Linked DNA regions of Homo sapiens: regions 2, 3, 4, 5, 6 and 7 are each linked to region 1. The links are contacts of gene promoters, found by promoter capture Hi-C in blood cells and fetal thymus (Javierre and others, 2016). All regions are on one chromosome and are shown on one strand. The core of a region is centred on a gene start or on the middle of the fragment in contact, and the rest is flanking DNA. Distances in the headings are between cores, read along the strand shown.

Evidence for each region. The method cuts DNA at HindIII sites, captures the fragments that hold promoters and counts their contacts. A CHiCAGO score of 5 or more calls a contact.
Region 2: a fragment that was not itself captured here is called in contact with the fragment with the promoter of BDP1 in region 1 in 2 of 17 cell types (naive CD4 T cells and total CD4 T cells); the score reaches 5.8 in naive CD4 T cells.
Region 3: a contact is called between a fragment that was not itself captured here and the fragment with the promoter of BDP1 in region 1, in 2 of 17 cell types (total CD4 T cells and naive B cells). The highest score is 8.0, in total CD4 T cells.
Region 4: a contact is called between a fragment that was not itself captured here and the fragment with the promoter of BDP1 in region 1, in 1 of 17 cell types (naive B cells). The highest score is 5.3, in naive B cells.
Region 5: a fragment that was not itself captured here is called in contact with the fragment with the promoter of BDP1 in region 1 in 2 of 17 cell types (naive CD4 T cells and M1 macrophages); the score reaches 5.8 in naive CD4 T cells.
Region 6: a contact is called between the fragment with the promoter of TAF9 here and the fragment with the promoter of BDP1 in region 1, in 10 of 17 cell types (naive CD4 T cells, total CD8 T cells, non-activated CD4 T cells and 7 more). The highest score is 18.2, in naive CD4 T cells.
Region 7: a contact is called between a fragment that was not itself captured here and the fragment with the promoter of BDP1 in region 1, in 4 of 17 cell types (naive CD8 T cells, naive CD4 T cells, total CD4 T cells and 1 more). The highest score is 6.0, in naive CD8 T cells.

What each region holds. Positions count from the first base shown.
Region 1 is chr5:71,453,681-71,457,895 of GRCh38, reverse strand. BDP1 (BDP1 general transcription factor IIIB subunit) reads right to left here and starts at 2,245. Exons shown (of 39, transcript NM_018429.3): 1 at 1,807-2,245. The coding sequence starts at 2,018. RefSeq lists enhancers at 1,458-2,383, 2,384-3,310. The HindIII fragment of the contact is 8,261 bases long and covers 1-4,215 here.
Region 2 is chr5:69,212,851-69,217,065 of GRCh38, reverse strand. No RefSeq gene overlaps it. Among named protein-coding and RNA genes, the nearest start is that of KGD4, 2.8 kb to the left of the region's middle. The HindIII fragment of the contact is 3,043 bases long and covers 253-3,295 here.
Region 3 is chr5:69,250,883-69,255,097 of GRCh38, reverse strand. It overlaps CDK7 (cyclin dependent kinase 7), which reads right to left. Exons shown (of 12, transcript NM_001799.4): 3 at 2,647-2,680; 4 at 429-496. Among named protein-coding and RNA genes, the nearest start is that of CDK7, 18 kb to the right of the region's middle. RefSeq lists an enhancer at 4,038-4,215. The HindIII fragment of the contact is 554 bases long and covers 1,421-1,974 here.
Region 4 is chr5:69,285,261-69,289,475 of GRCh38, reverse strand. CCDC125 (coiled-coil domain containing 125) reads left to right here. Exons shown (of 12, transcript NM_176816.5): 11 at 4,009-4,139. Among named protein-coding and RNA genes, the nearest start is that of CCDC125, 45 kb to the left of the region's middle. The HindIII fragment of the contact is 4,874 bases long and covers 1-4,184 here.
Region 5 is chr5:69,346,992-69,351,206 of GRCh38, reverse strand. AK6 (adenylate kinase 6) reads left to right here. Exons shown (of 5, transcript NM_016283.5): 5 at 1-223. It also overlaps the pseudogene NDUFB9P1. Among named protein-coding and RNA genes, the nearest start is that of CCDC125, 16 kb to the right of the region's middle. The HindIII fragment of the contact is 3,012 bases long and covers 815-3,826 here.
Region 6 is chr5:69,366,893-69,370,769 of GRCh38, reverse strand. TAF9 (TATA-box binding protein associated factor 9) reads left to right here and starts at 1,250. Exons shown (of 3, transcript NM_003187.5): 1 at 1,250-1,307. AK6 (adenylate kinase 6) reads left to right here and starts at 1,250. Exons shown (of 5, transcript NM_016283.5): 1 at 1,250-1,307. The coding sequence starts at 1,280. RAD17 (RAD17 checkpoint clamp loader component) reads right to left here and starts at 952. Exons shown (of 19, transcript NM_133338.3): 1 at 837-952. RefSeq lists an enhancer at 149-698. The HindIII fragment of the contact is 4,867 bases long and covers 769-3,877 here.
Region 7 is chr5:69,389,890-69,394,104 of GRCh38, reverse strand. It overlaps RAD17 (RAD17 checkpoint clamp loader component), which reads right to left. Exons shown (of 19, transcript NM_133338.3): 13 at 2,092-2,274; 14 at 865-950; 15 at 605-751. Among named protein-coding and RNA genes, the nearest start is that of RAD17, 22 kb to the right of the region's middle. The HindIII fragment of the contact is 2,925 bases long and covers 448-3,372 here.

The sequences.
Region 1 (4,215 bases), core at 996-3,495:
GAATGGTCTATAAATGCAACTTAAGTCAAGAAAAGAGGTGGTATAAGTCAATAATTAAAAACAGTCTACTTTTTTCCTATTTTATAATTACTTATAAAAAATTAGAAAATGCCTTAACTTATAGAATAACCTTTCCAGGAAGACTTCAATTTAAATTCGTATCTTAGCTGTTATGGATACATGCATTATCTGCATTTCACCCAATTATGTTGAATGCATAATGACAGAATATATATCCTATAGAGTTTTACAACTAGCAAAGACCCACAAAAAAATAAAAAGAGGCTGGGCACGGTGGCTCACACCTGTAACCCCAGCACTTTGGGCTGAGGCAGGTGGATCACTTGAGGTCAGGAGTTCGAGTCCAGCCTGGCCAACATGGTGAAACCCTGTCTCTACTGAAAATACAAAAATTAGTTGGGCGTGGTGGGGCACGCCTGTAGTCCCAGATACTTGGGAGCCTGAGACAGGAGAATTGCAAGAACCCGGGAGGTGGAGGTTGCAGTGAGCCGTACCACTGCACTTCAGCCTGGGCGACAGAGCAAGACTCCATCTAAAAAAAAAACTAATTAAAAAAAAAAAAAAAAACCACTTTCCCAGAGTCAGTAATGGCAAAAAAAGTGACTAAAAAACAAATTATATTCCCCAAACGTAAATGTCAACTCAAAAAAAAAAATTAAATATCCTTGACCATAAATATCTCAAAACTACAATCTTTGGGCAATTTATTAAATTATCAACCATCACGCACTCACACATAATTAACGAAATCTCTGAGAACTTTATTAATGTAACAGCGACTAGTATCGGTATCTCCTTTCTGTGTAGAAATTTTGAAACAGATTCATGTAATAAACTTGGAAATTACTAACCATCACTGAACTATCAACGTAACACCATACACTCAGCACCAGTTCAGGCCAATAGAGGAAGATGTTCCAAAAATAAATAAATGTTTCACCTTCCTATCACAGCATAAACAGAATTTGTACTATCTCACTTCACTTAACAAGGCTGTTTACTGATTTCCTCATATATATAGAAACAGAGACCATCTTAGCCTAACATGTCTTAAATTTACTCCATCACCTTTCTAAAAAACTAGTAACTTTTTGCGGGCAACTATTCTGCTATATCCCCTGCAAGGTAGTTAATATGAATTATCTCCAATCTGCACCAAAACGCTCCAAGTAGGCAATATTATTCCCATTTTGCAGATGAGCAAATTCTGCCTGAGAAAAGTTTACCTGTAGACTAAAAGAGTCCTGAATCCAAATATGATACATGACGCTAAAGCCATGCTTCTCTATTCAGGAAACACGGTCACCATAGTTAAAGAGGCACACTTCAATTAAGTGACCAGAACTCTTACTCACTGACATAAATCGGTAAAGCCAAAGCAATACTTATCTTCTCCTTTAAAAAATAAATATTTTATAAATTGAAAGACAAAAACACTTCCCTGCAAAGCACTCCAGAAGGATGAAAACTATAGTGACCTAAATTCTCAAATGAATAGTGTGGATATTCTTCACTTCAGGACTGCCATACCCCGATTCTCCCTACCACCACTTGAAGACATGGTCTCCTCTCGGAGAATCTATAGACCGTGACAAAATCCACACAAGCCACACCCTGCAGGTCAGACAACTAAACTGCAGTTTGGAGTGGTTTCATCAAGCCTCAACTGAAAGGCTTACTGCAAACGAGAGCGGACTCCTGTGATAAAATTCATTTGCTCAGCTTCCAGGTGACATGCCCGGAGAGGCGGGACAAATGAAAATTCTTCCCTCTGCAACCTCTTACCTGCTCCTAGGAGCCTTTTCTTGGGGCTCCGCTCCACCGAAATCGACTGTGGGCACATCTGTGGGCTCCGCGGGCTTGGAAGCAGAGTCCGTGGCAGGATCCGGCGGCCTGGGAGACTCCCGTCCACGCTGGGGATTGGAAGCTGTGGAGCCCCTGGCGCCTACACCAGGCCTGACATTCGGCTTCACGCTAAGGCGTGCCCTGCGGAACATGGCGGAGGCAGGGGGCCCGGGGAGGCAGCCTCACGGCCGCTCACAGCCCCGAGCCCCGGCGGCTGCCCGGAAAGGGGATTAGGAACTACGCCCTCCCCACAAAGCCACACCACCAGCTCAGGGGGCAGCTACCGTAGTTTCACTGCCCCGCCGCCGCCTCCTCCTCTCTCCCGCCGCCGCCGCTTTTTCATGACCCTGCCACACACCGATGGCTAAATTTCACCCTCCTCCCAGCATCCCCGCGCTCACAGGACGCCGCAACTGATTGCGCCATCAGCCAGCGCCGCAGAATGACGTCAGACGCACAGCACTGGGAGCCATGGTAACTACCAAGCTACTGAGACTGGGTTACCTGCGGACCAGAAATTGAGATGCAGAGATATTTGCTCTTTCTTCTCCAGGAGTCCTTAGGAGTAGTTGAAAAGAGGAACAGAAGAAAGTCCACTTCTCTGCTCAAACCTTTACTGGAACTATTAAAATCGCTGGCCGATTTTGTCTTTTGAAGATCCTGAAGGGTTTAGAAATTCTAAATTGAGTAGACATAGATTAAAAATGCTGGTGTGAAGAAACTGATAATAGTTACCTCCCAGGAGAGGAATGTGTTTCTGGAAAACACGTCGTGGTAGGAAGACCATTTACCGTACGCCTTTGTGTACTTTTTTGTTTTTGTCCTTTGAGACAGGGTCTTGCTCTGTCGCCTAGGCTGGAGTGTGCAGTTGCGCGATCTTGGCTCACTGCAGCCTCCACCTCTCGGGCTCAGGCGATCCTCCCGTCACAGCCTCCCAAGTTGCTGGGACCACAGGCACGCGCCACGACACCCGGCTAATTTTTTTTTTCTCGTATATTTAGTAGAGACGGGGTTCATCATGTTGCTTAGGCTGATCTTGAACTCCTAGGCTCAAGCGAGCCACCCATTTGGCCTCCCAAAGTGCTGGGATTACAGACGTGAGCCACCACGCCCAACCTCCTTGTGTACTTTTTAATATGAATGTATCACCCGAGATCGTACCACTACACTCCAGCCTGTTTAAAAATTATTATAGTTGAAACCTTGTAAATTATTGTGAGTGTTCTTAATCTGCTTCAGGAGGTAGCAGTAAACAAGACGTTCTGGATTTGGGAGGAGAAAATACAAAAAAGAAATGAACAAGATATTTTTAAAATGTATCAGGCCCGGCGTGGGTGCCTCATGCCTGTAATCCCAGCATTTTAGGAGGCTAAGGCAAGGCAGATTGCTTGAGGTCAGGAGTTCGAGACCAGCCTGGCCAACATGGTTAAACTCCATCTCTACTAAAAATACAAAAATGAGCCAGGCCTGGTGGTGCAAGCCTGTAATCCCAGCTATGGGAGGCTGAGACAGGAGAATGGCTTGAACCCTGGAGGTGGAGGCTGCCGGGAGCCAAGATGGCACCACTGCACTCTAGCCTAGGCAACAGAATGAGTGAGACTCTGTCTTAAAATAAATGAATTAATTAATTAATTGCAATAAAATAAAGTATATCAAATGTCATGAAATAAATTTAAGGGTTGAATGCCGGGTATGGCGAGGCACGCCTATAATCCCAGCTACTGTGGAGACTGAAGTGGGAGGATCTCTTGAGCCCAAGACTTCCAGACCAACCTGCTCAAAATATTGAGACCCCTAAAACAAATTACCTACATGCGGTGGCTGTGATGGCTCCCACCTCTAGCTCCAGCTACCTGGAAGGCTGAGGCAGGAGGTCCAGGCTGCAGTGAGCTATGATAGTGCCACTGCCCTCCAGCATGGGTGACAAAGTGAAACCTTGTCCTTAAAACAAAAATTTAATAATAAGAAGAAAAAAAAGAGAGAAATGTACAGGATGATGTGATAGAAAGTAATGGGAGGGAGGCTGGCAGTAGAGTGGCTAGGGAAGTCCTCTATGATGAGAGGAAAAATAGCCAGAGCTGAGGTTGGCCTTGGAGGTATTGGGCCAATGTTTGAACCAGTGATACAAATCCCCTGACTCATGGGAACACAAAGGCCTGACTTTCTTCTTAGAAGGAAAAGAAAATCCTACAAGAATATGGTGATACATTAATAACAAAAGGTCAAAGGAATAAAATTCTGAACTGACTGAAGAAATTGATCACCTAAAGGGAGAACAAAAAAGAGGCAAGTGCTTTTGAGAGTAGGAAGGCAAGACTGAAAGCAGAGAAGAGAAAACATATATCTCTA
Region 2 (4,215 bases), core at 525-3,024, 2.2 Mb after region 1:
CCAACATTGTAAAACCCTGTCTCTACTAAAAATACAAAAATTAGCCGGGCGTGGTGGCGGGCGCCTGTAGTCCCAGCTACTCAGGAGGTGAGGCAGGAGAATTGCTTGAACCCAGAAGGCAGAGGTTGCAGTAAGCCGAGAGTGTGCCACTGCACTCCGGCCTGAGCGACAGAGGGAGACTCCGTCTCAAAAAAAAAAAAAGTTACATTACGTTCTGTGATAATGCTTAGGTTATATATAGTATTGTAAGCTTGACCAATGTGTTTGATGATATACATCAGTGATTTCTAAGTCTTGGGATCTTTTTAGAAATATAAATTACTGAACCCAGGTATGGTCTATTGGGATTCAGTGACTACAGAGAGGCCATTAACCCGTTTTGTTTTGTTTTGTTTTTGTGGTTTTTTTTTTTTTTTTTGAGACGGAGTCTCGCTCTGTTGCCCAGCCTGGAGTGCTGTGGCGTGATCTCAGGTCACTGCAACCTTTGCCTCCTGGATTCAAGCAATTCTCCAGCCTCAGCCTCCCCAGTAGCTGGGATTACAGACGCCCGCCACCACGCCTGGCTAATTTTTGTATTTTTGGTAGAGACAGAGTTTCACCATATTGGCCAGACTAATCTCCAACTCCTGGCCTCAAGTGATCCACCCACCTCAGCCTCCCTAAGTGCTGGTATTACAGGCGTGAGCCACTGCGCCTGGCCCCATTTTAATTATTTTCAAATGTGCAGTTCAGTCACATTAAGTACATTCACATTGTTGGGCAATTGTTACCATCTTCAGAAACTGTACCCATTAAACAAAAACTTATTCCTCCTTCCCTCAGCCTCTGACAACTATCATTTTACTTTCTGTCTATGAATTTGACTACTGTGGGTACTTAATGTACGTGGAGCCATAACAGTATTTGTCCTTTTGTAATTAGCTTGTTTCACTTAGCATGTCTTCAGAGTTCATTCATGTTGTAGAATGTGTCAGAATTTCTTTTTTAAGGCTGAAAAAATCCCATTATATGTGTATACCACATTTTGCTTATCCATTCATCTGTGGTAATTCTTTTTTTTTTTGAGACAGAGTCTTGCTCTGTCACCCAGGCTGGAGTGCAGTGGTGCCAACTCGGCTCACTGCAAGCTCCGCCTCCCTGGTTCACACCATTCTCCCACCTCAGCCTCCCAGGTAGCTGGGACTACAGGCACCCGCCACCACACCAGGCTAATTTTTTTTGTATTTTTAGTAGAGACAGGGTTTCACTGTGTTAGCCAGGATAGTCTCCATCTCCTGACCTCGTGATCTGCCCGCCTCAGCCTCCCAAAGTGCTGGGATTACAGGTGTGAGCCACCGTGCCCAGCCGATAATTTTTTTTTTTTTTTGAGACAGAGTCTCGCTGTGACACCCAGGCTGGATGCAGTGGCATGATCTCAGCTCAATGCAACCTCTGCCTCCTGGGTTCAACTGATTCTCCTGCCTCATCCTCCTGAGTGGCTGGGATTACAGGTGCCCACCACCACGCCCAGCTAATTTTTGTATTTTTAGTAGAGACAGGGTTTCTCCGTGTTGGCCAGAATGATCTCAAACTCCTGACCTCAGGTGATCCGCCCACCTTGGCCTCCCAAAGTGCTGGGATTACAGGTGTGAGCCACCGCACCTGGCCCAGTTCAATGCTTTTTAGAAAATTTTCATTTGAGACTCCTTTGACCTATGCCTCATTTAAAAGTGTGTTCAGTTTCCAAGTATTTGGAAATTTTCCTGTTATCTGACTGTTACTGATTCCTCATTTGATTCCCTTGTAGTCAGAACACAGTCTGTATAATTTCAATTCTTTTATATTTGTTGATATTTTGTCATCCAGGATATGGTCTATGTTGTTTATGTTCTGTAAGCACTTGAAAAGAGTGTTCTGCTGTTGTTTGGTGGAGTATTCTATAAATGTTGATTAGCTCCTCTGTTAGTCCATGTGTGCTACTGTAACAAAATACCTTAGTATGGGTAATTTATAACCACAGAAATTTATTTCTCATGTTCAGGAGGCTCAAAAGTCTAAGATCAAAGTACCAGCAGTTTCGGTGTTTTGTGAGGGCTCAGTCTTTTCTTCCAAGATGGTGCTTTGAACACTGCTTCATCCGAGGGGTTTAACACTGTGTGCTCACATGGCAGAAGGGCAGAAGAGAAGGAACCCATTCCCTCAAACTTTTTTTTTTTTTTTTTTTGAGACAGTCTTGTTCTGTCACCCAGGCTGGAGTGCAGTGGCACAATCTCGGCTCACTGCAACCTCCATCTCCTGGGTTCAAGCGATTCTCCTGTTGCAGCCTCCCAAGTAGCTGGGATTACAGGCGCCCTCTACCACACCCAGCTAATTTTTGTATTTTTAGTAGAGATGGGGTTTTGCCATGTTGGACAGGCTGGCTTTGAACTCCTGACCTCAGGTGATCGGCCCACTTTGGCCGCCCAAAATGCTGGGATTACAGGTGTGAGCCATTGTGCCTGGCCCTCAAACCTTTTTTTAAGGGCCTTAATCTCATCCATGATGGTTCTGTACTCATGATTTAATCATTTCCAATACCTTTTCGTATTGTCACATTAGCAATTTTCAATAGATGAATTTTGAAGGACACAGTCAGACCATAGCTTACCGCCTTTGGCCCCCCAAATTTATGTCCTACTCACATGCAAAATACATTTATCGGACGCTTGTTGCTCACACCTGTAATCCCAGCACTTTGGGAGGCTGAGGCAGACGGATCACTTGAGGTCACGAATTCCAGGCCAGCCTGGCCAACACGGTGAAACCCTGTCTCTACTAAAAATAAAAAAAATTAGCTGAGCGTGGTGGTGTATGCCTATAATCCCAGCTACTTGGAAGCCGAGGCATGAGAATTGCTTGAACCTGGGAGGCGGAAGTTGTTCACAGTGAGCCAAGATCGTACCACTGCACTTCAGCCTGGGGGACAAAGGGAAACACTGTCTCAAAAGACAAACAAAAAAAACCCAAAAATACATTTATCCATCCCAGTAGCCCCAAAAGTCTCAACTCATTCCAGCACCAACTCAAAACTATAAAGTCCAGAGTCTCACCTAAATCAGATATGGATGAGACTCAAGGCCATGACTCATCCTGAGGCAACTTCTCCTGCAGCTGTGAGCCTGTGAAATCAAATACATGTGCTTCCAAAACACAATGATGGGTCAGGAACAGGACTGACATTCCCATTCCAAGAGGGAGAAATAGGCAAGAAGAAAGGAGTAATAGGTCCCAAGTAAGTTAAAAACCCAAAAGGCCAACAACATTAACTCTTGAAGCTTGAGAATAATTCTTGACTCAGTATCTTGCCTTCAGGATGCATTGGGCTGGGGGTTGGACCCCCAAAGCCCCGGGGCAGCCCTACCCCATGGTTTTGATGGGCACAGTTCCAACCCAGCAGCTCTCAGCAGTTGAAGAGAGGTACCTGGGCTCTCTCAGGCAAGTATTGCATGCTGATGGCTCTACAGGTCTGGAGTCTGCCCTCCATACAGGGGTGGCCCTGCCATACAGCTCTGTAACAGCCTTTTATTGTTAGCCTTAGATAGCAGACAACTACCACTGAGGTTTTTTGAGATGGAGTCTCGCTGTCACCCAGGCTGGAGTGCAGTGGCACGATCTCGGCTCACTGCAAGCTCCGCCTCCCGGATTCACGCCATTCTCCTGCCTCAGCCTCTGGAGTAGCTGGTACTACAGGCGCCCGCCACCACACCCAGCTAATTTTTTGTATTTTTAGTACAGACAAGGTTTCACCGTATTAGCCAGGATGGTCTCAATCTCCAGACCTCATGATCTGCCTGCCTCAGCCTCCCAAAAGTGCTGGGATTATAGGCGTGAGCCACCGCACCCAGTTTTTGTTTTTGTTTTGAGACAGGGTCTCTGTCACCCAGGCTGGAGCACACTGGCACCATTATAGCTCATTGCAGCCTCAAACTCCCCAGTTCAAGCAGTTCTTCTGCCCCAGCCTCCTGAGCAGCTGGGACTACAGGCACATACCACCATGCCCAGATCACTGAGTTTGTTAGTGATACGATGTCATCTTAGCAGGTTAGTTCTTCTGTCCTTTTTGTAGAATATAATCCATGGGTAGGTTTTCTGGCCTTAGAAAATGTATCTACTCCATATAAAGAAAAAAAAACACATAGATAATATATCTACTGCAAGCCTGGGGACAGTGGCTCATCCCTGTAATCTCAGCACGTT
Region 3 (4,215 bases), core at 448-2,947, 2.2 Mb after region 1:
ATGAATACATTTTCTATGGTAGGCACTATTCCAGATACTTTACATCTATTCAATTGGCTAGTCTCACAACTTCCCTATGAGGCAGGGACTCTGGGGAGTTGTGAGTGAACACACTCAAGGTCTCACACAGGCAGAAAGAAAGGTTTTGAATTCAGGTTGACACTCTCAGCCACTACATGCTAGAGCTCCCTAGACTTCAAAATTATTTCCGACAAAATTAGCCTACATGTCAATATTTCATTTATTTAATCAGTGGTATAGTTTTGAAGACAATGCCTACCAAAACAACTGGGATAGAAAATGTATTTCCTTTAAGCTTCTACAAGGCTCATCCAGAACAAGTCATCTTGCTGAGCCTTTAATCAACATCCATTATATTAAGAAAAGGCAGAGTCCCAAATCCCAGTAACAGTTTTGATCATACTCACACCAATTATATTTGGATGACTTAGCTCCTGTAATAATTTTATCTCTCTTAAGGCGGTTCTATTTATACCTATATAAAAAGGCAAAGCAAAAAGTGAATAATTCTGAAATCTCAAACCTTACAAACACTTCTTTTTTTTTTTTTTTTTTGAGATGGAGTCTCGCTCTGTCGCCCAGGCTAGAGTGTAGTGGCGTGATCTCGGCTCACTGCAACCTCTGCTTCCCGGGTTCAAGCAATTCTCCTGCCTCAGCCTCCAGAGTAGCAGGGATTACAGGCACGCGCCACCACGCCCGGCTAATTTTTGTATTTTTAGTAAAGGCGGGGTTTCACCATGTTCATCAGGCTGGTCTCCAACTCCTGACCTCGTGATCCACCCGCTTTGGCCTCCTGAAGTGCTGGGATTACAGGCGTGAGCCACCACACCCAGCCACAAACACATATTTTTAAAGAAAGGTTAGTAATCTCAGAAAATAGTGAACATTACCCACAAAAATAAGGGCTACTTTGACAATTTTTATGTCAAATCTGTTGTTCTTTTACATTGCTTTATTTTTATTTATTTATTTTTTTTGAGATGGGGTTTCACCCTGTCAGCCAGGTTGGAGTGCAGTGGCATGATCTCGGCTCACAGCAGCCTCCACCTCCCAGACTCAAGTAATTTTCCCACCTCAGCCTCCCGAGTAGCTGGGACCACAGGTGTGCACCTCCACGCCTGGCTAATTTTTTGTATTTTCGTTAGAGATGGGGTTTTGCCATATTGGCCAGGCTGGTTTCGAACTCCTGAGCTCAGGCGATCTACCCACCTCACCCTCCCAAAGTGCTGGGATTACAGGCGTAAGCCATGGCACCAGGCCAATATTGCTTTACTTTTAAAATAGCTTAACAAAGACTACGACAAATGGTGAAAAATATTTCACCTTATCTATACCAGGATCTGAACACCACTACTAGACTAACAACATATATAAGTGTGCAGCATATAGGTGATAAGCTTCCCTACTCTTGCCCTACAAATATTAGTGGCATATTGTTTGTGCTAAAAGCAAACTAGTGATAAGATAGTATATTTTCCAATACAAATGACAGATTTCAAAATTAAAAATTAGATACAGGCCGGGCGCGGTGGCTCGTAATCCCAGCACTTTGGGAGGCCTAGGTGGGCAGATCACTTGAGGCCAGGAGATCGAGACCAGCCTGGCCAAGGTGGCAAAACCCCATCTCTACTAAAAATACAAAAAATTGGCTGGGCATGGTGGTGTGCACCTGTAATCCTAGCTACTCAGGAAGCTGAGGCAGGAGAATCGCTTGAACCCGGGAGGTAGAGGTTGCAGTGAGCCGAGATTGCGATACTGCACTCCAGCCTGGGCAACAGAGCATGACTCTGTCTCAAAAAAAATAAACAAAATAAAAATAAGATATAGTATTGGCACTTACACAGACAATGGGTCTCTTTTGTAAGAGCTATTTTATGATGAATCCTAATAAATAAGACTTTGGAAGAAAGTTTAATGAAATAATTTCCTCATGTATCTATTCCATAGTAAGCTTTATGTACTTTCATGAAAATGTATCCTGAATTTTCAAAGTAATTAGAAACTCAGAAACAGAAAAAACAATGGCTTGTAACACCTAAAACAGTAATGAAGACAGAAAGACAAACTAATTAAGCTTGCTGCCTTCCATTTATGTGGGTGATTTGGAATGTTTCTCTGAATATCCAGTAAGTAAAAATCACCAAATACTCCTTCTCTATGCTGAGTCTATCTTTACTCTTCGGGGACCCTGCAGTAACTCTATCCAGAACCATTACTAACTTATTAATTCATACTTTGCTCGTTTCTTCAGTGAGAATGAAAACTTTATGCTGGGCATGGTGGCTCAAGCCTGTAATCCCAGCACTTTGGGAGGCCGAGGTGGGAGGATAGCTTGAGGCCAGGAGTTTGAGAGAAGCCTGAGCAACACAGCCAGACCTCATCTCTACAAAAAATAAAACATTAACCACAAGTGGTGGCACATGTTTACAGCCCTAGCTACTCAAGAGGCTGAGGTGGGAGAACTGCTTGAGTACCTAAGTTTGAGGCTGCAGTGAGCTACGATTGTGTCTCAGTACTCCAGCCTGGGTGACAGAGCAAGACCCTGTCTTTTTAAAAAAAAAAAAAAAAAAAAAAAAAAAAAAGGAGAAAACTTTTCCTATCTGTCAGATTACATGAAATACTTACCATCTTTAGCTTCTGATCTATGTCCAAGTTTGATCTGGTAGAAACGGAAAAAAACCCAAATATATTAAAAATGTGTTAAATTATTTAGAATCAATGAATAATGTGTAAATACTTCAAATACTTCGCCACAGAAAAAAAAACAATTAGCAACCAATATGTACCTACTAGGCAAAAAGAGAGTAGGAATCATGATCAGAAAGATAAAATTAACAATATAAGAGAGAATCAAATACCTACCCTTGTCCCTTAAGTTTCTGAACTACACATTCAAATAATAAAATTAAGAAAAATCTATTTTACCTTTTCAAGGTTCAATGTGGACCAAATAACTAAGGGTACCCTGATTAAAAATAAATACGTAACTTCAAATTAGGCTACTTGGGAGGAAAGATACAGAAAATAACATGCTGTAGAGTTGGTAATAAGCCCAATAATATGCTCTTAGACACCACATTTTTCAAAAAGCAAAATTACAAATTGTGATGGTTAAAATGTTGTTACTCTGAATAAACATAACAAATTACATTAACAGGTTTAGTCTTACACAAAATAAATTACCTGGGTAAAGAACATTCTCTCACTGCTTTTTAGAAAACTGTCAGTAATCAAGAAAAGACTGGCGGGGTGTAGTGGCTCACACTTGTAAATTCCAACACTTTGACAGGCCAAGGTGGGAGGATCGCTTGATCCCAGGAGTTTAAGACCAGCCTGGGCAACATAGCAAGACCTTGTGTCTACTCAACATTTTTAAAAATTAGCCAGGAGTGGTGGCACGTGCCTACAGTCCCAAGTACTCAGGAGGCTGAAGCAGGAGGATTGCTTGAGCCCAGGCTACAGTGAGCCATGATCACACTGCTGTACTCCAGCCTAGGCAACAGAGAGAGACTGTCTCAAACAAACAAAAAAACAAAAACACAAGTGGCTCATGCCTGCAATCCCAGTATTTTGGGAGGCCTGGGTAGGAGGATTGCTTGAGTACAGGAGTTAAAGATCAGTCTGGGCAACATAGCAAGACCCCGTCTCTACAAAAAATGTAAAAAGTTACTGGGGCATTGGCTGGGTGCGGCGGCTCATGCCTGTAATCCCAGCACTTTGGGAGGCCGAGGCAGGTGGATCACGAGGTCAGGAGTTCAAGACCAGCCTGGACAATATGGTGAAACCCCGTCTCTATTAAAAAAATACAGAAATTAGCCAGGCATGGTGGCACACGCCTGTAGTCCCAGCTACTTGGGAGGCTGAGGCAGAAGAATCGCTTGAACCCAGGAGGCGGAGCTTGCAGTGAGCCGAGATCGTGCCACTGCACTCCAGCCTGGGTGACAGAGCGAGACTCTGTCTCGAAAAAAAAAAAAAAAAAGTTACCGGGGCATGGTTGCATGTGCCTGTAGTTCCATCTACTTGGAAGGCTGAAGTGGGAGGATTGCTTGAGCCCAGGAGTTCGAGGCTGCAGTGAGCTATGATTGCACCACTGCATTCCAGCCTGGGCAACAGAACAGGCGATTCTACTTCTAACAAACAAAAAAACCCACAGAATTTCTTAAAGTAGACCATTTAGGATTCATGATTTGCTCA
Region 4 (4,215 bases), core at 498-2,997, 2.2 Mb after region 1:
CAGGTTAGGTGATTTTGCCAGGGAAAAAGCTAACATGGTCCATGTATTTAGCCTTTTAGGAACCAGTGGAAAACACTAAGAATACCTGGTTCTACCACGGACCACAGCTATGTGTAGATAATCTTCCTCAGACACCTCCTCTCTCAGCTAAGCCCTTAATAGCAGTTGGATTGTAAAATCCTCTTTGAGGACAGCCCTGGTGTTTTGTGCTAATTGAAGGCAGATCTTCTTAGAAAGTCAGATTGTAAATATTTGTTTGTTTTGATAGAGGTGGAAAGAAAAGTGATGGGAAAAAGAAGAGACGAAGGGGAAAGTCAGGGTTAAAGTAATCTTAATCTTACGAATGCCTGTCAGACCCTGTCACCTGCCTGCAAGGCCTGCAACCCTGTGTGGAGCTTGGCCATTAGGATAGTGCAGTGTAGACAAAGCTGCATTTTTCTCAAGAGCTAGATTCATACTCATTTCAGCACTTGAGAATATGTGCATTTGATGTTCCATAATTCCTACCTTCCACAGTGTAAGAGACAGGGGAAACCAAAGTGTTTTCCTATTCACACAGCACTTACCACTCAGCTCAGCGCTTCTGACACCAGATGCTAGGGGTGGGGGATTCCCCACACACCAGCTGGGTATCCTATCATTTCCCTCAATTCTCACACTGTCTACCTGGAGTTAGAGTCAGATCCCATAAGTTAAAGGCTCAGTCCCACAAGATGGCCTGCACTCCAAATGCCAGTCAAAAGCACAGAGTTGTCTCTGCTGCTCCTGACTGACTGGCTGTATGTACATTGGGACTCCCATGACGCCCTCCTCAGGCTCCATTGATTTGCTAGGATGCCTCACAGAACTCCGGGAAACACTTCCGTTTACCAGTTTATTATAAAGGATCTTACAAAGGATGCAGATGAACAGCCAGATAAAGAGATGGACAGGGCAAGGCACGTGGGAAGGGATGCTCTCTTTGGCGTACCACCCCTCAGGAACCTCACATGCTCAGCTATCTGGAAGCTCCCCAGACCCTTTTGGGTTTTTATGGAGGCTTCATTACATGGACACGGTACATCACTGGCCATTGGTGATTACATCATTGGCCATTGGTAATCAACTCAACCTTCAGCCCCTCTCGCTTCCCTGGAGTTTGGGGGCTAGGGCTGAAAGTTCCAGCTTTCTAATCACAAGATTGGTTCCCCTGGCAACCAGCCCCCATCCTGAGGCTATCCAGGAGCCCATCAAGAGCCTCATTAGAACAAAAGATGCTTCTATTACCCAGGAAATTCCAAGGGATTTAGGGGCTCTGTGTCAGATGCTCCTAGCACTGAGGAAATTACAGTCTTAAGAATTGTGTGTTAGGAACTGGGGTCAAAGACCAACTATGAGAAAAGATTCACCTAACACCCCTATCTACTAGGATTTTAGGAGCTCTATGTCAGGAACTGAGGGCAAAGACCAAATATATATTTCTTATATTACAATATCACATTCAGCTATTGACAAATCTAAGGAAGATTCCCACAAAAAATGCAATTCAGAGGGGTATAGCTCCCAATCTCTGAGTTCCAGTAAGGCACTGAGAGAGACTGAAGGCAGAATTTTAAATAATTGATATAGGCAGGGCACAGTGGCTCATGCCTGTAATCCCAGCGCTTTGGGAGGCTGAGGCAGGAGGATTGCTTGAGCTCAGGAGTTTGAGACCAGGCTGGGCAACATAGGGAGACCCTGTCTCTATTAAAAAAAAAAAAATAGCCAAGTGTGGTGGTAGATACCTGTGGTCTCAGCTACTAGGGAGGCTGAAGTGGGAGGATCGCTTGAGCCTGGGAGGCTGAGGCTGCAGTGAGTCATGATCCCACCACTGCAGTCCAGCCTGGGTGATGGAGCAAGACCCTGTCTCAAAAAAAAAAAACCACCAAAAACTGATGGCCGGGTGCAGTGGCACGCCTGTAATCTCAGGACTTTGGGAGGCTGAGGTGGGTGGATCACTTGAGGTCGGGAATTTGAGACCAGCCTGACCAACATGGAGAAACCCTGTCTCTACTAAAAATACAAAATTGGCTGGGTGTGGTGGCACAAGCCTGTAATCCCAGCTACTCGGGAGGCTGAGGCAGGAGAAATGTTTGAACCCGGGAGGCAGAGGTTGTGGTGAGCCAAGATTGCGCTGTTGCACTCCAGCCTGGGCGACAAAAGCGAGACTCCATCTCAAAAAAAAAAAAAAAAATTGATTAATCTCGCACAGCTTTTATAAATCTATACAAGTTTGAGTAGTTCTTTCTCAGTTTCTCAGTGACAAGACTTTAATTCATTTTATTAGTATATTTCAGTAATCTTAAGAGGTACAGGGTGATACAGATTATTTTATGTTTAGTAACACTTAATATCAACTTTCTTTTTGATATGGCAGTTTAGACAAGTTTCCGGAAGTAGTTTATAGGCATACTTCTTTCTTTCTTTGTATTTTTGCTTTTGGGTTTTTTTTTTTTTTTTTTTATCTTAAACTCCTGGGCTTAAGCAATCCTCCAGACTACCAGCTTGAGCCATCACACCAAGCTATTTCTTTTTTTAGACTGAAAATAGGGACACAGATTCATCTACTCATCAAAGTGTCAGTTTCTCTGACTTCTGTTTGCCACAGCTCCTCGTGGAAGGGGTCAGGGCCGCCCTCGTCACTGTGGTCTGTCAGGATTGGTGGGAAGGGGATCTCCCCTCATCTGCTCTCAGTTTCCCACTAAACCACTTTTGGAGAATATTCCAAAAACATTCTTGAAATTTTCCTTGTACAATCTGAGATTTTATAACTTCTGCAAATTACTTTCCTTCAATGGATGAAGAAGGACATCAATGATGTCAGCACGTGAAATATTAAATATTATGCTAATACCTGAGCAGGGCCTTTGACAATTGTGGTATTTTTTGTTGTTGTCGTGATGGTGGTAAAATATATCTAAAGTTGGCCGGGCGCGGTGGCTCACGCCTGTAATCCCAGCATTTTGGGAGGCCAAGAGGGGGCGAATCATGAGGTCAGGAGATCGAGACCATCCTGGCTAACACAGTGAAACCCCATCTCTACTAAAAATACAAAAAAATTAGCCGGACGTGGTGGCGGGCGCCTGTAGTCCCAGCTACTCGGGAGGCTGAGGCAGGAGAATGGCGCGAACCCGGGAGGCGGAGCTTGCAGTGAGCCGAGATTGCGCCACTGCACTCCAGCCTGGGTGACAGAACAAGACTCCATCTAAAAAAAAAAAAAAATTATATATATATATATATATATATATATATATATATATATATATATAGTTTACCATTTGAACTGTTTTTAAGTGGTATTAAGTATATTCACATTGTAATGTAACCTTCATCACCATCCAGCTCCAGAACATTTTCATCTTTCTTTACAGAGACCCTGTCCCATGAAACAGTAACTCCTCACTTCCCCTTCTCCAGCCCGTGTGATTTATTATTTAATGGCACAGTTCCCTGAGAAGAAGGTAATGCTATTCTCATTTTAGAGATGAGGAAATCAAGCTGAGAAAAGTCACCCGAGGTCATACAGTTAGTAAGTGGCTGAATGAGGATTCAAGTCCAGGTCTTTGCTGTTCGGAAGCAGAGTTTGCATGGCTCAGAGGCCCCCTGTGGCCTGCAGACATGTTTTGTTAGGTTGGCTTAGTGTAGTCAAACAATAAGACTAGTGGCTGACATTTAGAATTGGAAGATGTCATGACAGATCTGCATTTCTGGCTGCTCTTGAAGACTGTGATGATCCAGTGACATGGACTGTGTTCTTGTGTGGCCTGTGTGTCAGCTGGCACAGAGGGGTGGCTGTGCCGCATGGCAGGGCGGCACTCTTGCTGCCTCTCACCTGCATTGCTCCTGGCTCTGAAGGCTGTGCTCTGCTCACTACATTCCACTGTGTGCTCCTGGACTCACTTGTCCTAGAGATCAAGTTACCTCTTTTGCTGGAAGTATATCAGTGAGGATATTTTAATGTCTCAGCTGGATTCTCATGTTCAATTTTAGGATTTCCATCACCAAGGAGTAAGAAGACCTTCGGGCAGAGACTGTTGGGTATGCTCCCTTCAGAAAACAGTTCTAAGAGGATGGAAGACCAGGACAGTCCTCAAGAGGTCCTTAAGATGCTCATAGATTTGGTTAGTGTCTTTGCTTTTTTTTGCAGGTTATGGTTAAGCCAAGCTTGTCCAACCCACGGTCCGTGGGGAGCATGCA
Region 5 (4,215 bases), core at 1,071-3,570, 2.1 Mb after region 1:
ATAAACATAAATAAAATTTATAATCCGTTGGTTTTTAGCTTATTAACAAGGTTATGTAACTGTCACCACTGTGGAGGAAGCAGTGATGATAAAGGGAACTCCTATACCCTTTAGCAGTCACTCTCTATTCTTTCCTCCTCATCCCCTTGCAGTCACTAGTCTACTTTCTGTCTCTATGGATTTGCATATTCTGGATATTTCATATAAATGGGATTATACAGTATGTGGCCTTTTGTGTCCAGTTTCTTTCACTTAGCATAATGTTTTCAAGGTTCATCTAAGTTATAGCATGTACCAATATCTCATTCCTTTTTATGGTTGAATAATATTCCATTATATGGATTTACCACATTTTGCTTATGTTTCCATCACTTGCACAATTGGGTTGTATCCACTTTGGGTATTGTGAAGTTGAATACATAATAGTAGCATACTATGAGCATTCATGTACAAGATTCCATGTGGATGTATGTTTTCAGTTTTCTTAGGCATATACCTGGGAGGGGAATTGCTGGGTCATAGGGCAACCATGTTTAACTTTTTGAGGAAATGCCAAACTGGTTTCCAAAGTGGTTGCAGCATTTTATGTTCCCACCATCAATGTATTAGGGACTCAGTTTCTTCACATTCTTGCTAACACTTGTTACGGTCTATATTTGTTGATTTTTACCATTTCAGCGATTTTTATTAGGCTAAGTGTGTGTGTATGTTCTGTAACTTACTTCACTTGCAGGCATGACAGGGTGAGGTCTGTCTCTCTACATGGGCCACTCCCGGGGTCTGGTCACAATATACCACCACAGGGGGCAAAGCTTCAGTCCTAGACCACCAGTTGGGATTTCCTCCTGCAGCTGCTTAACCTCTCACTCCTGGCTTTGCCTCAGCAGTTTCTTCCACTGCTCTCTCTTGGCTAAGTAATCAGGGTACATTGCCTTCTCAGAAGGATTCCAGTCATCTAAGCACCACTCCAGAGACTTGTAGCATATCACTCGTATCTCTCATAGGAAGTACCCCCAGAGAGTCAGGGAAGAGAATGGCTGTGAATGCTGACGATACCAGAATTCCTCTGCCTCCCTCAGCAGTGGGGTAGCCTCCATCATACCCTTTTTTTTTTTCCTATGCTCTTCAAACCAGGCTCTCATCAAACAGGCAAAATATACCATTATTTATCTCTGGATGCACCATGGCTTGAGGTGGTACAGCGCCTGGTTACAAAGCAGCAACACCTTCTGGTGATAGGTCAAGTAGGCCCTCCAGCATCGAGAACACCATGACTGCTTGATCCCATCTTTTTTTTTTTTTGAGACGGAGTCTTGCTCTGTCGCCCAGGCTGGAGTGCAGTGGTGCAATCTCGGCTCACTGCAAGCTCCACCTCCCGAGTTCACGCCATTCTCCTGTCTCAGTCTCCCAAGTAGCTGGGACTACAGGCGCCTGCCACCACGCCCGGCTAATTTTTGTATTTTTAGTAGAGACGGGGTTTCACCATGTCAGGCAGGATGGTCTCGATCTCCTGACCTCGTGATCTGCCCACCTTGGCCTCCCAGAGTGCTGGGATTAGAGGCGTGAGCCACCGCGCCTGGCCTTTTTTTTTTTTTTTTTTTTTTTTTTTTTGAGGCAGTCTCACTCTTGTTGCCCAGGCTGGAGTGCAATGGCGTGATCTCAGCTCACTGCAGGTTCAAGGGTTCAACCTCCACCTCCCAGGTTCAAGCGATTCTCTTGCCTCAATCTCCCAAGTAGCTGGGATTACAGGCATGCACCACCATACCCGGCTGATTTTGTATTTTTAGTAAAGACAGAGTTTCTCCCTCGAACTCCCAACCTCAGGTAATCTGCCCGCCTCAGCCTCCCAAAGTGCTGGGATTGCAGGCGTGAGCCACCTTGCCTGGCAACTCCCATCTTTTTTATTATAACTATACTAGTGGGTGAGTAGTATATCACATTTTGGTTTTGATTTACATTTCTCTAATGATTTATGATGAGCATCTTTTCATGTGCCTATTGGTTTATCTTCTTTGGATCCCTCATCTTTTTAATGTTTGCATAAAATGGCATTAATGAGGCTAGGCCCAGTGGCTCATGCCTGTAATCCCAACACTTTGGGAGGCCGAGGTGGGTGGATCACCTGAGGTCAGGAGTTTGAGACCAGCCTAACCAACATGGTGAATCCTTGTTTCTACTAAAATACAAAAATTAGCCGGGCGTGGTGGTGGGTGCCTGTAATCTCAGCTACTTGAGAGGCTGAGGCAGGAGAATCGCTTGAACCGAGGAGGTGGAGGTTGCAATGAGCCGAGATTGCACCATTGCACTCCATCCTGGGCAATAAGAGTGAAACTCCCATCTCAAAAAAAAAAAAAAAAAAAAAAAGCCATTAATGATATGCCAAGTACCCAGGCACTGTGGCTCACACTTGTAATCCTAGGACTTTGGGAGGCCAAGGCGGGCGGATGACTTAAGCCCAGGAGTTTGAGACCAACCTGGCCGACATGGTGAAACACTGTTCCTAAAAATAAATAAATAAATTAATTAATTAAGTAAATAGGCCAGGCCGGGCGCGGAGGCTCACGCCTGTAATCCCAGCACTTTGGGAGGTCGAGGCAGGCAGATCACGAAGTCAGGAGATTGAGACCATCCTGGCTAACACGGTGAAACCCCGTCTCTACTAAAAATACAAAAAATTAGCCAGGCGTGATGGCAGGCACCTGTAGTCCCAGCTACTCGGGAGGCTGAGGCAGGAGAATGGCATGAACCCGGGAGGCAGAGCTTGCAGTGAGCCGAGATAGTGCCTCTGCACTCCAGGCTGGGCCACACTCTGTCGCAAAAAAAAAAAAAATAGGTCAGGCATGGTGGCTCACTCCTGTAATCTCAGCACTTTGGGAGGCCTAGGTGGGAGGATCACTTGAGCTCAGAAGTTCGAGACCAGCCTGGGCAACATAGTGAGACCTCGTCTCTATTTAAAAAAAAGAAAAAAGAGGCTGGGCATAGTGGCTCATGCCTGTAATCCCAGCACTTTAGGAGGCCAAGGCAGGTGGATCACTTGAGATTAGGAGTTCGAGACCAGCCTGGCCAACATGGTGAAATCTCGTCTCTACCAAAAATACAAAAACTAGCCAGGCATGGTGGTGCATGCCTGTAATCCCAGCTACTCCGGAGGCCGAGGCAGGAGAATCGCTTTAACTCAGGCAGCGGAGGTTGGAGTGAGCTCAGATTGTGCCACTGCATTCCAGCCTGGGCAACAGAGTGAGACACTGTCTCCAAAAAAATGAATAAATAAATAAAAATAAAATAATAGCCCAGAGTGGTGGCATGCACCTATAGTCCCAGCTACTCAGGAGGCTGACGCAGGAGGATCACCTGAGCCTGAGGAGGTCGAGGCTGCAGTGAGCTGTGATTGAGCCACTGCACTCCATCCTGGGCGGACAGAGTGAGAACTTGTCTCAAAAAAAAAGACATGCCAAGTTTGATTTAATCAGTCCTCTCACTAATGGACATTTAGGCTGTTTCCAGCTTTTTACTATTACAATGATGCAAGAATAATAAAGAGTAAATATATTACTATGACATAAACTTCTAAACACATTTCAAAAGTGAATTCTTTATCCACATGACCACTCTCTGAGGTAGATGTTATTATTATTTCCATTACAGGAACCAAGGCACAGAAGAGTTAAGTGGCTTATCCAAGATAATAGCTAAAAAGTATTAGCTTCAGTGTTCTATCTTAGGCAGGCTTTCACTCACTAAGTTGTGTTCCCTAATGCATATGCGTTATGCATATGAGCAAGTTTATCTGTTGAGTAAATTCCCAAAGACAAATTGTACGCAAGCTTAACATTTAGTAGACTAATTTTTTTTCTTTTTTTTTTTTGAGACAGGCTCTTGCCATGTCACCCAGGCTGGAATGCTGTGGCACCATCATAGCTCACTGCAGCCTCGACCTCCTGGGCTCAAGTGATCCTCTGACTTCAGCCTCCCAAGTAGCTAGTGAAACCCTGCCTGTACAAAAGATACAAAAATTAGGCCAGTGGTTCATGCCACTGCACTACAACGTGGGCAACAGATGAGGCTGCATCACAAAAAAAAGAAAAGAAAAGAAAAAAGAAAAACCAACAAAATTAGCTGAGTGTGGTGGCATGTGCCTGTAATCCCAGCTACTCAGGAGACTGAAGCGGGAGAAGCGCTTACACCCAGGAACTCGAGGTTGCAGTGAGCTGAGAT
Region 6 (3,877 bases), core at 1-2,500, 2.1 Mb after region 1:
TGTTCAGCCCTCCGCCCCAAATCGTTCACGATTAGAGACTGTGACGTTTCAAAAGGTATACAGGTGGAAAAAAAACACCTATTTGAGTAAATATAGTTTGTAGCTCGAAATAAAAGATGCAGACCAGGGGCCGGACGCGGTGGCTCATGCCTGTAATCCCAGCACCGTGGGAGGACGAGGCGGGCGGATCATCTGAGGTCAGGAGTTTGAGACCAGCCTGGCCAAAACATGGTGAAACCCCGTCTCTATTAAAAATGCAAAAATTAGCCGGGCGTGGTGGTGGGCGCCTGTAATCCCAGCTACTCTGGAGGCTAAGGCAGGAGAATCACTTGAACCCAGGAGGCGGAGGTTGCACTCCAGCCTGGGCGACAAGAGTGAGACTCCGTCTCAAAACAAAACAAAAACAAACAAACAAACAAAAAAAGGTGCAGACTGTTGTCACGGTCAGGTCTCTATTCACTCTTGAAAACAAGATTGACAATTACCTCCTTTAAAAAGCAGATAACTGTCCCTGAAGATGCGAGGTTACTGAAATGAGATGTCAGAGGTAGACCTTCAAGACTATTCCTAGCCGACCCACCACCACCCCACACAGTGAACAGGGAATACTAAGCTCAAATATTCGTCCAACGTAATCCTGTAATCAGTGGGGTGCCGGGTTGAGCTCGCAAATCCCCGCTGCAGGACAGGGCTCTGCACCCTCAATCTTCTCATCCCCAGATGGGATGGGCGGGTCGGGAGGAGGAGCGACGAGAGCCCAGGAAAGCTTGAAGGCAGAGATAGACTCACGTCTCTAAGACATATACATAATATAGCCGCAACCGCGGCGGCCTTACTTTCCCGGAGCTGCATCCCCTTTTAGGCGAAGAGCGGAGGCGACCAGGGACTACCCTAGGTGAAAGGGCAGCCACCTGGCCCTACCCGGGCTCAACGCCGAGCCTCTCGGAGGTACGGCCTCCCGGGGACCTTCCAGACTGGTCGGCGCAAGCGAAGGGCGGGGACCACCGAAGGAGTGTGTGACTTAGGCATCCAGCGCACTGCCTGACCCGAAGTACCGACCCGAGTTATGCCCACCCTCCAACTTTGCGACGGAAATGTGTCATCGAAAGCCAGGTAACCAGTGGGCCGCGGCTGGGCCGCCGGGGCAGGCTAGGGGCGCCGCGGTGGGCTTCGGGGCCTTTGGGGCCGTGGGCTTTTGCTGCCGCCCGCCCCTTCCGGCTCCTCCCTGTAGAGCAAAGGGCACGTGAGCGAGGCGCCCGAAGCCGTCGCGGCGGGGACCATGTTGCTTCCGAACATCCTGCTCACCGGTCAGGGCGCGCGGCCGGGAGGGACTGGGCTGGGGCAGGCTGGGGGCGCAGAGTGCTCTGGGCATCGGGCGCCCAGGTGGGGGCCCCTCACTGCCCTCTTCAGAGGCCGGCCGAGGGCCACGAGGCGGTTGTCAGCGCCCCGGGAGCCGACCCTCGCGGGCGTTGCGGGAGGCGAGGGAGGGGACGCGGAACGTTAATTCCGTTGGCCTGAGGCTCCGGGGGGGGGCGGGGGGGGGTGGAGAGAGGTCGGCAGATCCAGCTCTCCAGCTTGGCAACCTGCTTAGTCTTTCTGAATCTGGTATTTCGTTTGTAAAATGGGTTGTTGATTCTTTGGCAGGGTTGGCCTTGGGATTTTTAGCGAAATAACGTAAGGCCATATCTGCTTCCCGGTAGAGTCATTAATGGTGGATGCCTCACTCCTTAGGCCTCCGTGGGCCGTATTTTATTTTTTCTTTGCTTCTGATAAACGCCTCAGATTAGATTTCGGTAAACGAGTTCAGATGTTTGTGACGTGACGAAATTGCTGTATGCTTTTGTTGAGTTACATCAAAGGATCCCCCCGCCCCTTAAAAGGAAGGCATATAGAGCATTTCGGGTCGTTTCTCGCGTAGGAGTGGGTCTTTGAAGCCATACTCAGGGTGCATGTTATCAGTGAAGGGAATTAAAATGCTGCATAACGACTTTAACGAATATTTTTGCTAGCCGTTTAGTCCTGAAAGTGTTTATCAAATTGTAGGCCATTCGTGGAAAAATCTAATGCATGTAGATTTTATTGCAAGGTACAGAAAAATTAAGACTCTTTGTGGGAACAGTAAAGTTACATCATTCACCCAAAGGTAAAATTGTTGGCAGCGCACAAGACATGTCTGTTTCTGAGAGGTGCAGATTAACCACCCCACAAATAACGTTTAGAATTTTAGATTCCTTAAGCGGAAGATTTTACATCTTTTTGCATGGATCAAACATAGTGCCCTGGTTATTAAGTCATTGTCAAAACTTTAAAGTGAACATTTTATTGAAAACATGTTGAGTCCAGGGTTCAGACTTGGTGTATTATAGTGGACTTGAGGTGACCGTTATTCTCCTGGGTATGGGAACTGGATTATCCCTGTTATCTTTATGCTTAAGTTTAATTTCAGGGATGTTAAATCTGAATAGCTGAAAATTATGAATTTGATGATCTTGAAATGTAATTTTAATAGGTATCAGAAGGGGAAGGTAAAGAACAATGTATATAGTATTGTCATTTATGTAAAAGGGAATATGTGTTGTATTTATATAACAAAGAGTATGTACATATATGTACATTTACATGCAAACATAAATAGGGTTTCTTTGGGAAAGGAAACTGGTTTACAGTGGTTATCTCTAGGGAAGGGCGCAAGGGGTCAGTAGAGGTAATTTTCAGACTGCTTAATTTTAACATGAACAGTTTTGTTTTTGTTCTTGTTTTTGTTTTTGTTTGAGACAGAGTCTCATTATGTTGGCCAGGCTGGTCTCGAACTCCTGCGCTTAAGCGATCCTCCCGCCTTCTCCTCCCAAATTGCTGGGATTACACGCGCGAGCCACCACACGTGGCCATGAACAGTTTTTAAATCTTTATAAGTTAAAGCAAATAGGCCAGGTGGGTGGCTCATGCCTGTAAATCCCAGCACTTTGGGAGGTGGAGGTGGGGAGATCGCTTGAGCTCAGGAGTTTGAGCTTAGCCTAAGCAACATAGCCAAACCCCGTCTCTACAAAAATTAACCAGGGCATGGTGGTGCATACCTGTGGTCCTAGCTACCGGACAGGCTGAGATGGGAGGATTGCTTGAGCCCAGGAGGTAAAGGCTCTAGTGAGCCAAGTTCCACTGCACTCCAGCCTAGGTAACAAAGAGATATCTTGTCTTTAAAAAAAGAAAAAGGTAAATAAATTATTGTAATTGATTCGAGGTGGCTAATTTTTTTTTTTTTTTTTTTGAGATGGAGTCTCTGTCGCCAGGCTGGAGTGCTGTGGCGCGATCTTGGCTCACTGCATCCTACAACTACCTGGTTCAAGGGATTCTCCTGCCTCAGCCTCCTGAGTAGCTGGGATTACAGGCACGCGCCACCACGCCCGGCTAATTTTTGTATTTTAATAGAGATGTAGTTTCACTATGTTGGCCAGGATTGTCTCAATCTCCTGACCTTGTGATCTGCCCGCCTCGGCCTCCCAAAGTGCGGTGATTACAGGCATGAGCCACTGCGCCCAGCACGAGATGGCTAATTTTATTCTCAGCAGTTCCCCGGTAGCAGCAGGCAGTTTGAATTGGCGTCAGAATCTGCTGAGCCCCACCCCTGGAGAATCAATACACTGGGTAATATTCTGACATTCAGTTAGCTTTGGAAAATTTTTATTAGATCGTAGTACATGCTAATTTACATATGGCCAGGCATGGTGGCTCACGCCTGTAATCCCAGCACTTTAGGAGGCCGAGGCTGGCAGATCACCTGAGGTTAGGAGTTTGAGACCAGCCTGGCCAATATGGTGAAACCCGGTCTCTACTGAAAATACAAAAATTAGCTGGGTATGGTGGTGGGCACCTGTAATTC
Region 7 (4,215 bases), core at 661-3,160, 2.1 Mb after region 1:
CCAGCGTGGGCAAAAAAGTAAGACGCTGTCTCGAAAAAAAAAAAAAAATAAGCTGGGCATGGTGGTGTGTGCCTGTATTTCTAGCTACTTCGAAGGCAGAGAGGACAGGATTCCCTAAACCCAGTAGTTCAAGACCAGACTGGGTAACATAGCTGTAGATAGAGCCTCTTCTCAAAAAAAAAAAAAAAAAAAAAAACCACCATAACACAAAACACAAAATCAGAAAATTTAGAGACAGGAGTGTGGTGGCTCACGCTTGTAATCCCAGCACTTTCGGAGGCTCAGGTGAGAGGACTGTCTGAGCCCAGGAGTTTGAGACCAGCCTGAGCAACACAGTAAGACCCTGTCTCTACACACACACACAGAAAAAAAAGAAAAAAAGAAAATAACTTTAGAAACAATTGGTGCTATATTATCAGCAGAAAAATCAGATTTGCTACTGAAGCTTCATTATAAACACTGAGTTGGTTACATTAACTTTAGCATAGTTATGAAGAAAAGTCACATAAAATAATGTCAGGCAATTAGGGATAAAAGTAAACTTTCTTTTCTTAATTCTAAGGAAATACTATAAACATAAACATTTTAAGTCAAATGGTCTTACATTCCAGTCACCACTGAGGATATCTGCAAAACTCAGAAATTCACTGGCTCTCACAATATCATCAATTTCCATGAAGAAATCTATGTAGTTTTGGTGAAGATATAAATTAAATAAGTCTCCAGGCATGTGTGACATTTCTACTACCTCCTATAAAAAGAAGCATATATACATAAATTTGGTAAAAATGCAATGGTCAAATATATATGCACACGAATAATATATCCTTTGTAACCTATACTAAGTGTCATCAAAGAACTTACCTCAGGTTCAACAAGTAATGTATCCCGTTCATATTCTGATAAATGAGAGGGCAACCGAGGTGAGTCTAATTCTGTTAAAGATGCTCCTATAAAAAATTTCTGGAATTATTAAAGATAATACCTTCTTTATAATTATATAGCACCTCTCATTTGAAGAGTTTGAAAATTTTAGACATACAATACCAACATAGTAACAAACTGTTAAAAAATAATAAATAAATAAAAAACAACTGGAAGCAAGCACCTATTTTTTCCACATTAGCAAGAACTAAATTAACAATTCTGATGCTTAGATTATGGCTTCTCTAGACTTAAAATATTCCATTTCCTAATGCACTCCCATTTCACCTTTTTCAGCTTTGGGTTGCTTTCTTCCCTTGATTTCTCATCTCAATACAGTGGTCTTTACTCTTTTATTTACTATGTAGGAAGATGTTGCTCTCTACATGAAAGAATACGAATTCCATTCACTAATGCAAGAGACGATAAACGTATGTTGGGGAGGAAAAGAAAGGAGAGAAAGAAAAGAATCAGGTGGGAATAGTCACTCAGGTTCAAAGTAAGAGGATCCAGTGACAGAGGAGTGTCCTCACTGCCACCTAAGTGATGCCCATTTTCCTCAGATGGTATGAAGGTTTCCATTTAGAAATCCTAATTTCTTTCCTTTAGGGTCATCAGACTGAAAACAGGCATTTGCTATCAAAAGGAGGGATTATTTGGGACACTAAAATGGGCAATAGGGAGTGAAAGAACTGAGGGGGAGCAGTCATCAAAAAAGACAGAAAAGGCGATAAACATCTCTGGTTGGGGAGACAGAACGCTTGTAAATTAGAGAAATACAAGACGATTGAAAGAAACCTTAAACTACCTGGTAATTTGTATAAGGCTCTGTTGGCTGGAGCCCAGTGTTAAGAGGGCTTTAGGCTACCAACACTTGCCACTACAAGTCTAGATGATCTGCTCTCTTACCTTCAGCAAACTATAATTTTAAAGATTTACACACATGGATATGGCCTGCAATTGCATGTTTTTACTTTTAATCCTGCTTACGGTCAGAAAATATTCTGATTTCCTACTATGTCTTAGGCCTAGGCAAACAGTATCTGACCTAGCTCTAACTCTTAGAGCAGAACCAAAATACATGACATTTTTTTAAAAGTGACATTTTATTTCCATTTTAAGACTATGTGATATCCAACAGATTTTAAAAGTGTAAAAATTTCTTACTTTTACAATATAGAATTTTCCCCAAAGCTCTGAAGAGAAACAGAGAAACATCTTTGCCACCAATAGCTTGGACCTCTTGATTTTCAAAAACCCTATCAGGTTTTTTTCTTCGTTTTGATTTTGACAGCACAGCATCTGATTTTAAAGACATTCCTTTTTTCCTTGGCCGTAAGTTGTTTTCTCCTGAATAATATACATCCAAGTGACAATATTTAAATTAAAATATGAAAATTAAAACTAAGAACACTTCAGATATAGTTACACTAAATATTCTAATTACAATTTGTTTTCCTAATAAACAAAAATTATAAATGACATTAACTGAGTTGGAATCCTCTTTGGGTTACTAACATTAAAATGGAATAAAGTATTATCTGAAAGTTATTTCATAATGCAGATTTCAAACTTTCACATGCACAATAGCACAATCTCTAATATAGGCTGACATTCCTGATCCAAAAAATTCAAACTCCAAAATACTCCAAAATATGAAACTTGCAGTGCCAACATGATGCTCAAAGGAAATGCTCATTGGAGCACTTTGTATTTCAGATTTTCAGACAAGGGATTTTCAATTCGTATAATGCAAATATTCCAAAATCTTAAAAAAATCTGCAATCCTTCTATTCCCAAAAATTGCAAATAAAGGATATTCAACCTGTACAGTCACATCGCCTTGGTTTCTCATCGTGTTATGTGCAAGATACTGTTCTTGGCATGTAATACATAGGAATTTAATCTTCATAACAACCCTGTGAAGGGAGAATTTTTTTTTTTTTTTTTTGAGATGGAGTCTCGCTCTGTTGCCCAGGCTGGAGTGCAGTGGTGTGATCTCGGCTCACCACAACCTCTGCCTCCTGGGTTCAAGCGATTCTCCTGCCTCAGCCTCCCGAGCAGCTAGAATTACAGGTGTATGCCCGGCTAAATTTTTGTATTTTTAGCAGAGATGAGGTTTCACCATGTTGGCCAGGCTGGTCACAACCTCCCAACCACACAAATTGGCCTCCCCAAGTGCTGGGATTACAGGCATGAGCCACCATGCCCGGCCTTTTTTTTTTTTTGACACAGGGTCTGGCTCTATCACCCAGGCTGGAGTACAGTGGCACAATCATAGCTCACTGAAGCCTCAACCTCCAGGCTCAAGTGATCCTCCCACCTCAGCCTCTCAAGTAGCCGGGACTACATGCACCACCATGCTGGCTATATATATATATATTTTTAATTAGAGACGAGGCCTCGCTATGTTGCCCAGGCTGGTATCAGACTCTTGAGGTTGAAGCTTTCTTCCACCTCAGTCTCCTATAGTGTTGGGATAACAGGCGAGAGCCACTGCACCTGACCAATTATTATTAGACAGTTAATGAAATGAGATACAAAGAGGTAAAGTCATTGGCTCAAGGTCATCAGTGAGTGAATGACTGGAATCCAGGCAGCCTGGTTCTGCAATCTATGTTTAACAACCTCTCTATTGATGTTGAGAGTATCCAATTTATGAATATGCATGTGATCACATTTCTTGGGTTTTTATTTTTTTTCCTTAATTTTTTTGTAGAGACAAGGTCTTGCTATGTTGCCCAGGCTGGTTTCAAACTCCTAGGCTCAAGTGATCCACCCACCTTGGCTTCAGGCATGAGTCACCATGCCTGACCCAAGTTTCATTTTTAAGTCTAATATTTAGAACTCAAGAGTGCATGGCTTAAAAGCTACCTTGAACAGCAGAAAGAGCACAGGATCTGGATTTGAATCAAAATACTGTCTATCTCATCAGGTTGATATGAGAATTAAATGAAAAAAACATAATTGCTAACACAGTTCCTGGCCCACTCTTTGATGTCAATTATCAACGTTAAGCATTAAGTAGTCTGCTAAATGCCTTCTGAAGGAGGACTATGCAGTAAACGATGACCATTACAGTAAAAATGTAACTCACTGCCATTAGTGAAACTATCTTTTTACTACATCTTTCTACATATTAACAGGAAATTTATTAAACATATCTCATAAATTTATACTTTTTAACATTAACAGGAAATAAATTTATTAAACATATCTCATAAATTATTATAAAAATAATTTCAGGCCAGATGAGGTGGCTCACACCTATAATCCCAGCACTTTGGGAGG